Linked DNA regions of Homo sapiens: region 2 is linked to region 1. The links are contacts of gene promoters, found by promoter capture Hi-C in human tissues and cell types (Jung and others, 2019). All regions are on one chromosome and are shown on one strand. Each heading gives the region's core, a stretch centred on a gene start or on the middle of the fragment in contact. The rest is flanking DNA. Distances are from core to core; before and after follow the strand shown.

Evidence for each region. Contacts are between HindIII fragments. The study calls those that stand out against the background at their distance.
Region 2: a fragment that was not itself captured here is called in contact with the fragment with the promoter of TRUB1 in region 1 in 1 of the 25 tissues and cell types used here (stomach).

What each region holds. Positions count from the first base shown.
Region 1 is chr10:114,934,791-114,940,209 of GRCh38, forward strand. It overlaps TRUB1 (TruB pseudouridine synthase family member 1), which reads left to right and starts at 3,405. Exons shown (of 8, transcript NM_139169.5): 1 at 3,405-3,749. The coding sequence starts at 3,464. RefSeq lists an enhancer at 3,237-3,776. The HindIII fragment of the contact is 7,626 bases long and covers 1,046-5,419 here.
Region 2 is chr10:113,681,980-113,687,398 of GRCh38, forward strand. The region is part of intron 1 of CASP7 (caspase 7); the gene reads left to right. Among named protein-coding and RNA genes, the nearest start is that of CASP7, 4.8 kb to the left of the region's middle. RefSeq lists an enhancer at 427-556. The HindIII fragment of the contact is 8,159 bases long and covers 1-5,419 here.

The sequences.
Region 1 (5,419 bases), core at 2,155-4,654:
ATAAAACATTCCTGTCTGCATGAAGCTGATATTCTGATAGAAGGCATCAGACATTAAACAAAATTAGTAAAATATGTGGTACGTATTAGTCCATCTATGTTACTATAAAAGAATATCTGAGACTGGGTAATTTATAAAGAAAAGAAGCTTAATTGGCTCACAGTTCTGCAGGTTGTAGAGGAAGCATGGTGTGGGCATCTAATTCTGGTGAGGCCCTCAGGAAGCTTCCAATCATAGCAGGTGAATGGGAAGCAGGCACGTCATGTGGCTGAGAGTAGGAGCAAGAGAGCAAGGGCAGGGAGGTCCCAGACTCTTAAACAACCAGCTCTCACATGAACTAACTGAGTGAGAACTCATTTGTCACCAAGGGGTTGGTGCTAAACCATTCACGAGGGGTCCACTCCTGTGACCCAATCACCTACCACCAGGCCCAACCTCCAACACTGGGAGCTAAACCATTCACGAGGGGTCCACTCCTGTGACCCAATCACCTACCACCAGGCCCAACCTCCAACACTGGGAGCTAAACCATTCACGAGGGGTCCACTCCTGTGACCCAATCACCTACCACCAGGCCCAACCTCCAACACTGGGAGCTAAACCATTCACGAGGGGTCCACTCCTGTGACCCAATCACCTACCACCAGGCCCAACCTCCAACACTGGGAGCTAAACCATTCACGAGGGGTCCACTCCTGTGACCCAATCACCTACCACCAGGCCCAACCTCCAACACTGGGAGCTAAACCATTCACGAGGGGTCCACTCCTGTGATCCAATCACCTACCACCAGGCCCAACCTCCAACACTGGGAGCTAAACCATTCACGAGGGGTCCACTCCTGTGATCCAATCACCTACCACCAGGCCCAACCTCCAACACTGGGAGCTAAACCATTCATGAGGGGTCCACTCCTGTGATCCAATCACCTACCACCAGGCCCAACCTCCAACACTGGGAGCTAAACCATTCATGAGGGGTCCACTCCTGTGATCCAATCACCTACCACCAGGCCCAACCTCCAACACTGGGAATCACGTTTCAACATGAGATTTGGAGGGAACCAACATCCGAATCATTTTCATGGTATGTCAGGTGAGATGTGCCATGGAAAAAAATAAAGCCAGAAAGTTAGCTAGGAAAGTGCCATGGTAGAGGGATAGAAAGAGGGAGGTATTATGTTCTGTAGGTGGTCAGGAGTGACTTCATCCAGAAGATTTTTGGAATTGGATCAAAATAGGATGGTTTAAAACAAGGATGTGGAATGAAGAGTTAGAATAAAAGGCCTGTTAGAAACAGGAAAGAGGAATAAAGACACAAGTGGGCCAGGCGTGATGGCTCGTGCCTGTAATCCCAGCACTTTGGGAGGCCGAGGCAGGCGGATCACCTGAGGTTGGGAGTTCATGACCAGCCTGACCAACATGGAGAAACCCCGTCCCTACTAAAAATACAAAATTAGCTGGGCATGGTGCCACATGCCTGTAATCCCACCTACTCAGGAGTCTGAGGCAGGAGAATCATTTGAACCCGGGAGGCGGAGGTTGCAGTGAGCTGAGATTGTGCCACTGCACTCCAGCCTGGGCAACAAGAGTGAAACTCTGTCTCAAAAAAAAAAAAAAAAAAAAAAAAGACACAAGTGAGTAGCATAAAAGAAGGATGTGCAGCTAGAGACAGAGAACTTTCTAGGTTCTGAATAGTGTGTCAGTGTATTTCTGATAAATCTTCTCCCCCTGTGCCCCCAAGCTGGTATGAATCAGTTTTCTGTTGACCAAAGAGCCCAAACTCATACATGTATTGGAGCAAAAAAAACCTGTGAATTCAAGGCCTGCCCAATGTGGGAGATGTTGATTACCTTAGAAAAACAAAGCTTGGTGCTTCTGATCCCAAGAATGCCGATATAATAGCAGAGTAGCATTAATTTTGTTGTGTCCTAGCATCCCAGAAATCAAACATGCAAGAAATATACATTTCTTCATTTTCTTTAAATCAGATTAACTCTGGTCCTACACTGGGCTGATGGAAAATTCAAATATAAGCATCATATGTTACCCCTAGTTCTGTTCTCCCTCTGCATCCCTCACCCCCAGAGCCACAAGAGAAATAGGGAGGCTTGCTGATGTCCGGACAATTGGGAAAAGGCCTCTAATCTCCAAGTGCCTTGGAGTCATCCAAGTCATCATTGATCAAGCCTTGCAACCTTCCCTGCAAGTCCCTGGCTCTCTGCTTCCATGGCACAAGAATAGAGAACTCTTTCCTGAGGCTAATGGACACCATGCTCCTTTGGGTGCAGTCATCCCTTCTGAAGTCACAACATCTTTGTGGAAAAATTAACATCTTGAAGCAGGGCCAGGTGTCCACTAATCCTGTGATATGCCAATCTTTTCAGTTAGCTTAGGCTTTTATAATAGACCACAAGAGTAAGTGACTTCCTTCTAGGAGTTTCAGCTTTCCACCCTGAAAAAACTCCCTCAAAGATTTTTTTTTCCTTTTAATAAATTGTTCTGCCATGTGTCTGTTGCACGAATGGGTGCAAGTTCAAATGGGACCCCATAACTGGTGATTGTGAGCAGCTAAGGGGCATCACTAAAATACTAGATATTAAAGTCCAAGAGTATGATGAGGACAAAGAGTGGTTGTAAAGAAACCTAAAAAACAATGAGGGCAAACTTTATCTGTCTCACAATAGTTATGATAGCATTTAATGTTTCTGGTGCAGAAGTAATTTTTCTCCACTCTGCCTTGTGCTGGAATCAAAACAATATTCCTCAATCTTGTTAGGGAGTGAATAACTTTTAGGGAGAAGGTCTCAAATGGGAAGTGGTTTAAAGTTTATGAATTGCAAGAATACCTTTTGATATCTAAACAAAGTGTACTAAGGAATTCAACCCACAGAAGAGCTGATATTCAAAATCAGAATTATTAAAAATTGTAGTGGGGTCAGTGGGGGTTTGGGGAGGGTGAACAGGAGTGCATGAAGAGCATCAAAATAAGCACAAGTGATTTACCATTGGCTTGGTTTCTTCGGGGAATTTGAAGAATTCATACTTATTTATACGTTTTCAAATATTTATTTAAGTGCCTACAACATGTGAGGCATTTGGGAATGTCTCAGTTAACGTGGTACATAAGTTCCTTGCTCTAATAGAGCTCACATTTGGATGTCTTCTAATTCTGAACCTGAATGTAAGAGCACAATACAATCAATGAAGCAGTGAGCCCAGGAAGCCATGGATCTTCACAAGCCTCAGGAAAAGTCAACATTTAAAATTTTCTATTTAAAGTCCAAGGGCACAGCAAGCTCTTGGTCTATATGGGAAGGCCATGGACTACAATTCCCACAAGTCCGTGCGACCTCTCCGTTCTGCGCAGCTTCGCGGTATGAGGAAGAGGGTCCTGTCAGGCGCACTCTTGTTGCATCATCAGCGTGCACCTCCACGATGAAACAGGTCTGGGCTACAAAAGTATGGCCGCTTCTGAGGCGGCGGTGGTGTCTTCGCCGTCTTTGAAAACAGACACATCCCCTGTCCTTGAAACTGCAGGAACGGTCGCAGCAATGGCTGCGACCCCGTCAGCAAGGGCTGCAGCCGCGGTGGTTGCGGCCGCGGCCAGGACCGGATCCGAAGCCAGGGTCTCCAAGGCCGCTTTGGCTACCAAGCTGCTGTCCTTGAGCGGCGTGTTCGCCGTGCACAAGCCCAAAGGGCCCACTTCAGCCGAGCTGCTGAATCGGTTGAAGGAGAAGCTGCTGGCAGGTACTGCAGCCCGGGTGGGGACCAGGCTGAGGCGGTCGCTGCGAGAGGGGAAGCACATTAGGCTTTTTGCGACGCTCGTGATTCAAGAGACAAAAGGAGGGGAAAGGGAGACTGACCATTGAATTAGCTCTGGACAGGAATCTCGGGCATCTCGGGCTTGGACTTGCCCTGGCACGAACTCTTGTAGCCTACTTGGCAGTTGTAGTTCTCAACGGGAGGAAAAAAATCCCGTACTTACACAATAAAACCCTGCCCTTGGGCGTGCAGACCTGTTTTCTGTAATCTGATCGATCCCTCAGGAGGCTTTTGTTGGGTTCATGTGGATGAACCCCAAAAGGAAGTACTGGTTCTGCACCCCTAAAGTTGCATTCCTCAAAATGTATTGGAAATGCAGATATACTTCGTTAACCAAGACTTAATATAGTCGTTTTCACATTTTAATGGGCCTAACAATTACTTAGAGTCTCTTGTACAAATACAGATTCCTAATCCCTGCCCTGTCCGAGATTGTGATTCGGAGAGTTCGGGGTATTTTTAGGAAACTGCAATTCTAAATAGTTGCTCCAGGTGATTCCAGTGTAAGTAGTTTATGGACCACATTTGAGGAACACTAAATATAACTTGGCCACTAAGCTGAGAGTGTTCATTTTATTGATTCGTTTATTCACGTACACTGGGAAAATAGTAGAAAAGCCTAGAGAATCACCCCGTTAATCAGCTCGGATGATTTCACACATAAAGCATCCAGGATCCTTAAGTTCATTGGACATATACAATAAGCCAGGTCTGTGCTAGCCTATAGAGACTTGAAGATGAAAGATAACTCTCTTACCTTAACTGAGCTGATAGCCTAGTAATTTCTGCACCTTGTGGTGGTAAAACTAGTTAGTTAGGTTATTCAAGGCCCTCCAGAGTTTGGCCGTATTCTGTCTCGCCATTAAACCAGTAACAGGGACTTTCTTACATTGTTTAGTGTCCCATGGAAAACTTTACACTTTAAAAAAATGCAAAAACAAATTATTCTGATGGGAATTATAACTGACAGTACAGATTTAAGTGTTTATGGGCAAATAGGTACACTCCTGCAGATGTTTAATTCCAGTATCACGACTACTTATTCTTTTATTAAAGTTTTGCTTTGTTGCCTGAAAGTATGGGTCATACAGAGGACGTCAAAGTGAGGAATTGCATCAAGGATATGTATTGTGGTATCATCATAGTTTTTTAGTTTTCCTTCATAGAACTGCTGCTTTCCTGATTTGTTAGCTAAACTCTGGGTTTCTTTTCTTTTTTTTTTTTTTTTATCCTTAAGGTAATGATTACCATTCTTTCAGACAAGTTTCTGACAAAGCCATATTCTGGCCTTCTGGCTAATCTGCCTCTAAGAACTGAAGTTTCTTGTTGAATCTTGGTTAAAATGTTTCAAGGCTCTTGCTAGGCTAGAACCTTTAGCTAGAGACATTCTCATTATCCTCGATTTCTATATTGCTTGTGATTGGCCTATTTTGTATTTATGTTAGTTAGGCTAGGGCTTTCCAAATGTCATTGTAATTGGCTGTCAGAATTGCTTGGGAAGTTTTTGTTTTTGTTTTTGTTTTTGAGATGGAGTTTCGCTGTTGTTGCCCAGGCTGGAGTGCAATGGCAAGATCTCGGCTCACTGCAACCTTCCC
Region 2 (5,419 bases), core at 1,850-4,349, 1.3 Mb before region 1:
TGAAAGGAGGAAATAAGAGGTCAAAACCAGGTCTTGGTTTGACTGAAATGACGTGTCTGAGATCAGGCATTCCCCACTTGGTTACCACCCTGGGCTATGATCGCTCTTTGGAGGTTCCAAAAATCAAGCCCAGTCTCATAGGAATAAGAAAGTAACTAATTGTTTAGCTTTACAGATTTGAAAGAGCCAAGTCCCACCACTGCTGACTTGGATTGTTAGAAGAGACACTTTCTGTCACTGCAGACAGTGTTCAGCATCAACCCAGAAGGATGCGGTAGGTTTCAGACAGAAGACCTAATGGCCTACTGTTTGGAGGGAAAGTTCTAGAAAGCGTCCCATCATTGAGCCACAGAAATCAGCCTGAATTTTACATCTCAGTAGCTAAGTCCAAAGCCCTCTCTTAGTGTCTGAGAAGGATGAGTTTAAGCTATACCCATCCTTTGGTGGAACATTTCAAATGTTTAATGAGTGCACAGTTCTCTCTGCCTGCATCGCTCCCACCTACCCTCTCTGCTTCCCCCTTTTCAGTTCTCAGGTCAGACATTTCCTCCCCTGAGGAGTTTCCCTAATTTCTGTGAGGCTCTTGAGTTTCCCTGGTATGGCTACAGATTGTTCACCCTCAAGGCATACACCACAGTTGCATTTCAAACTAGACGCCATCCTTTTTTTCATGTCTGTTTCTCAACATGGCAGGACCAGGTCAATTTGCTCACAAGTATATCCCTAATTCCTAACTTCTAGTAAATATCCATTGAATGAATGAAGAAGAGTCTCCAAAAGTCTCAGCAGTCCCAATAATATCAAAACAAAGGCTTGGCTTTCTTAGGAGCCATTTTGCTTAGGGTCTTCCCCTTTTTCAAAACCACTTTATTAAGGTATAGTTGAAATATAAAAAGCTAGGCATAGTTAATGCATGCATACCTACCAAGTTTGGAGATAAGCATAGATACACCCATGAAATCATCACCACCTCAACAAAGCTACCACCTCCTAAAGTTTCCTCCCACACCGTTTAATGCTATTATTACTATTATTTTTATTACTACTATTTTTTGAGGTGGAGTCTCAATGTGTCACCAGGCTGGAGTGCAGTGGCGCAATCTCGGCTAACTGCAACTTCTGCCTCCCGGGTTCAAGCGATTCCCCTGCCTCAGCCTCCCAAATAGCTGCGACTACAGGCATGCACCACCATGCCCAGCTAATTTTTGTATTTTTAGTAGAGACGGGGTTTCACCATGTTGGCCAGGATAGTCTCAATCTCTTGACCTTGTGATCCGCCTGCCTCAGCCTCCCAAAGTGCTGGGATCACAGGTGTGAGCCACCATGCCTGGCCAAAACTAGTATTTTTTGTGTGGTAAGAACATTCACCATAAGATCTACCCTTTTAGCAAATTGTAAGTATACCATATAGTATTGTTAGCTATGGGCACTATGCTATATAGGAGATCTCTAGAATTTATTCATCTTGCACAACTGAAACTGTGTACCCTTTGACTATCACTTCCCCATTTCTTCCTCGCTGCCCCCACCCCCAACCTCTGACAACCTCCATTCTATTCTCCACTTGTATGAGTTTGACTCTGTTAGATTCCACATAGATGTGAGATCATACAGTAATTGTCTTTCTGTGTCTGGCTTATCTCACTTAGCGTAATGTTCCTTAGGTCCATCCATCTTGTCACAGATGGCAGGATTTCCTTCTTTTTTTATGGCAGAATAATATTCCATTGTGTGTGTATACCACATATTCTTTATCTATTCATTCATTGATGGACATTTAGATTGTTTCCATAATGTTACAGTGAATGTGGGAGTGCAGGTATCTTTTTGAGATCCTGATTTCAGTTTCTCTAGATATATAGCCAGAAGTGAGATTATTGGATCATATGCGATTTCTAGTTTCAATTTTTTGAGAAACCTCTAGACAGTTTTCCATAATGGCTGTACCAATTTATATTCCCACCAACAGTATAGAAGAGTTCCCTTGTTTTCACATCCTTGCTAACACTTACCTTTATACACACACACATATATACATACACATACACATTATATATGCATATGTGTATGTGTATACACACACACACACACACATATAAAATAGCTATCCTAACAGTTGCGAGATGATATCTTATTGTGGTTTTGCTTTGCATTTCCCTGATGATTAGGAACATTGAGCACCTTTTCATATACCTGTTGCCCATTTGTATGTCTTTAGAGAAATGTCTATTCGGGTTCTTTGCCCATTTTTTTAATTAGATTTTTTTTTTTTTTTTTTTTTTTTGCTATTCTGTTGTGTGAGTTCCTTGTGTATTTTGGATATTAACCCCTTTTCAGATATATGGTTTGTAAATATTTTCTCCCATTCCATAGGTTGCTTTTTCGTTTTTTGTATTGTTTCCTTGCTATGCAGAGCTTTTTAGTTTGGTGTAATCCCACTTGTTTATTTTTGCCTTTGTTGCCTGTGCATTAGCATCATATGCAAAAACTCATTGTCAAGACCAATGTCAAAGAGCTTTCTCCCTATGTTTTCTTCTAGCAGTTTTAAGGTCTCAGGTCTTATGTTGAAGTCTTTAATCCATTTTGAGTTGATTTTTTTGTATGGTGTGAAATAAGAGTCTAGTTTTATTCTTTTGCATGTGGATATCCAATTTTCCCAACACCATTTCTTGAAGAGACTATCCTTTCCATATTGAATATTTTTGGCACCCTTGTCAAAAATTAGTTGACTGTAATGTGTGGGTTTATTTCCAGACTCTCTATTCTGTTCCGTTGCTCCATGTGTCTGCTTTATGCCAGTATCATACGGTTTTGATTACTATAGCTTTGTAATATAATTTGAAGTGAGGAAATGTGATGCCTCTAGCTTTGCTCTTGCTCAAGTTTGCTTTGGCTATTTAGGGTCTTTCGTAGCTACATATGAATTTTATAATTTTTTTATATGTCTGTGAAAATGCCATTGGAATTTAGATAGGGATTGCATTGAATCTGTTCAGTGATCAATTTGAGCAGCATGGACATTTTAACATATTAATTCTTCCAATCTATGAACATGGAATATCTTTCCATTTATTTATGTCTAATTTCTTTCATCAGTGTTTTGTAGTTTTGTTGTTCTGGCTCAAAGAAGAGCAGTGTGTTGCTTAATTTCCACATATTTGTGAATTCTCTAATTTCTCTCCTGTTACTGATTTCTACTTTCATACCATTTGTGGTCAGAAAAGATACATGATATGACTTTAATCCTCCTAAATTAATTAAGACTTGTTTTGTAGCCTAGCATATGATCCATCTTGGAGAATGTTGTGTACACTTGAGAAGAATGTGTATTTTGCTGCTGTTGGATGAAATGTTGTATATATGTCTGTTAGGTCCATTTGGACTAGTGTTGTTCAAATCCACTGTTTCCTAATTGATTTTCCATTTGGATGAAATATCCATAGTTGCAAGTGAGGTTTTGAAGTCCCTTACTCTTATCTATTGCTATTTCTTTCTGTAGTTCTATTAATACTTGTTTTATATATTTAGGTGTGCTAATGTTGATGCATATATATTTACAGTTGTTATGTCTTTGGTAAATTGATATCTATAGTTATAATATAATGACCTTCTTTATCTCGAAAGTTTTTTACTTTAGTCTATTTTGTCTGATATAAGTATAGCCCCCCCTGCTCTCTTTTGGTTACCATTCATATGGATTATCTTTTTATATCCCTTCACTTTTAGCCTATGTGTGTCCTTAAATCTAAAGTGAGTCTCTTGTAAATATCATGTAGTTGGATCTTATGTTTTTACTCTATTTAGTCACTGTATGTATTTTGATTGGATAACTTAATCCATTTACATTTAAAGAAATTATTGATAGGTAAAGGGCTCACTGTTGCCATTTTGTGATTGTTTTCTGACTGTTTTATAGTTCATCTGTTTCTCTCTTCCTCTCTTGCTTCCCTCCCATGTGATTTGATCATTTTTTGTAGTGATATGCTTTGTTTCTTTTCTGTATATATTTTGCATATCTACTACAGATTTTTGCTTTGTTATTACCATGAGGCTTACACAAAACATCTTATAACGTTCTATTCTAAGTTGATAACAACTTAGTCCATTTGGGATGCTATTACAAAATACCCTAAACTGGGTAGCTTATAAACAACAGAAATATATTTCTTGTAGTTCTGGAGGCTGGCATGTTGAAGATCAAAGTGCTAACAGCATCAGTGTATAGCGAAGTTTCATTTCCTTGTTCATTTATTATATCTTATCACATGGTAGATAGGGCAGGGCAGCTCTCTTTATATAAAAGTGCTAATCCCATTTATGGAGCTTTACCCTTTTGACCTAATCATACCCCAAATGCCCCACCTCCTAATACTATGACATTGGTGAATAGATTTCAATGTGTAAATTTTGGGGGGTACGTAAACATTCAGACCATAGCAACAACTTAACTTCACGCACATTCAAAAATTCTGCAGTTTTATTCTCTCCTTCCATGTTTTATGTTATTGATGTCACAGTTTACATTTCTTTATATTGTATATCTATTAACAACTATATAGCTATGGTTATTGAAGCTAGAGTTGTTTTTAATACTTTAGTCTTTTAACTTTAGTAGAGTTCAAAGTGATTTATGCACAGCTAATACAGATGCTCCTCAACCTATGATGGGTTTACATCCCTATAAACCCAATGTAAGTTGAAAATATCATAAGCTAAAAATGCCTTTAATGCAACTAATCTATTGAATTTCAGAGCTTAGCCTAGCCTGTCTTAAACATGCTTATATCACATTAGCCTACAGCTGGGCATGAGAATCTAATACAAAGCTTATTTAATAATAAAGTGTTGAATATCTCATATAATTTATCAATACTGTACTAAAAGTAAAAACAGGATGGGTGTATGGTTACTTGAAGTATGGTTTCTACATGATGTGTTTTGCTTTTGCAGCATTGGAAAGACAAAAGATCTTAAGTAAAACCATTGTAAGTCAAAGACCACCTGTAAATTATTCACATATTCTGGATTTGACTATACACTTACTTTTACCAGTGAGTTTAAAGAATGTCCTTTCATTTCAACCTGAAGTATTCCTTTTAGCATTTCTTGTAAGGCAGGTCTAGTAGTGATGAACACTGTCATTTTCATGTGTCTCAGAAAAGTATTTATCTTTTCTTCTGAAGGACAGCTTTGCTGGATATAATATTTGTGGTTGGCAGTTTCTTTCTTTTAGCACTTTGATTATATTATCCCACTCTTTCCAGGCCTGCAAGGTTTCTGGTGAGAAATCCACCAGATGGTCTTATGGACATTTCTTTGTATGTAATGAGGTGCTTTTCCGTGTGTGTGTGTGCATGTGTGTGTGTGTATGTACATGTATACATGTACGTACATATATATGTATGTACATGTATACATG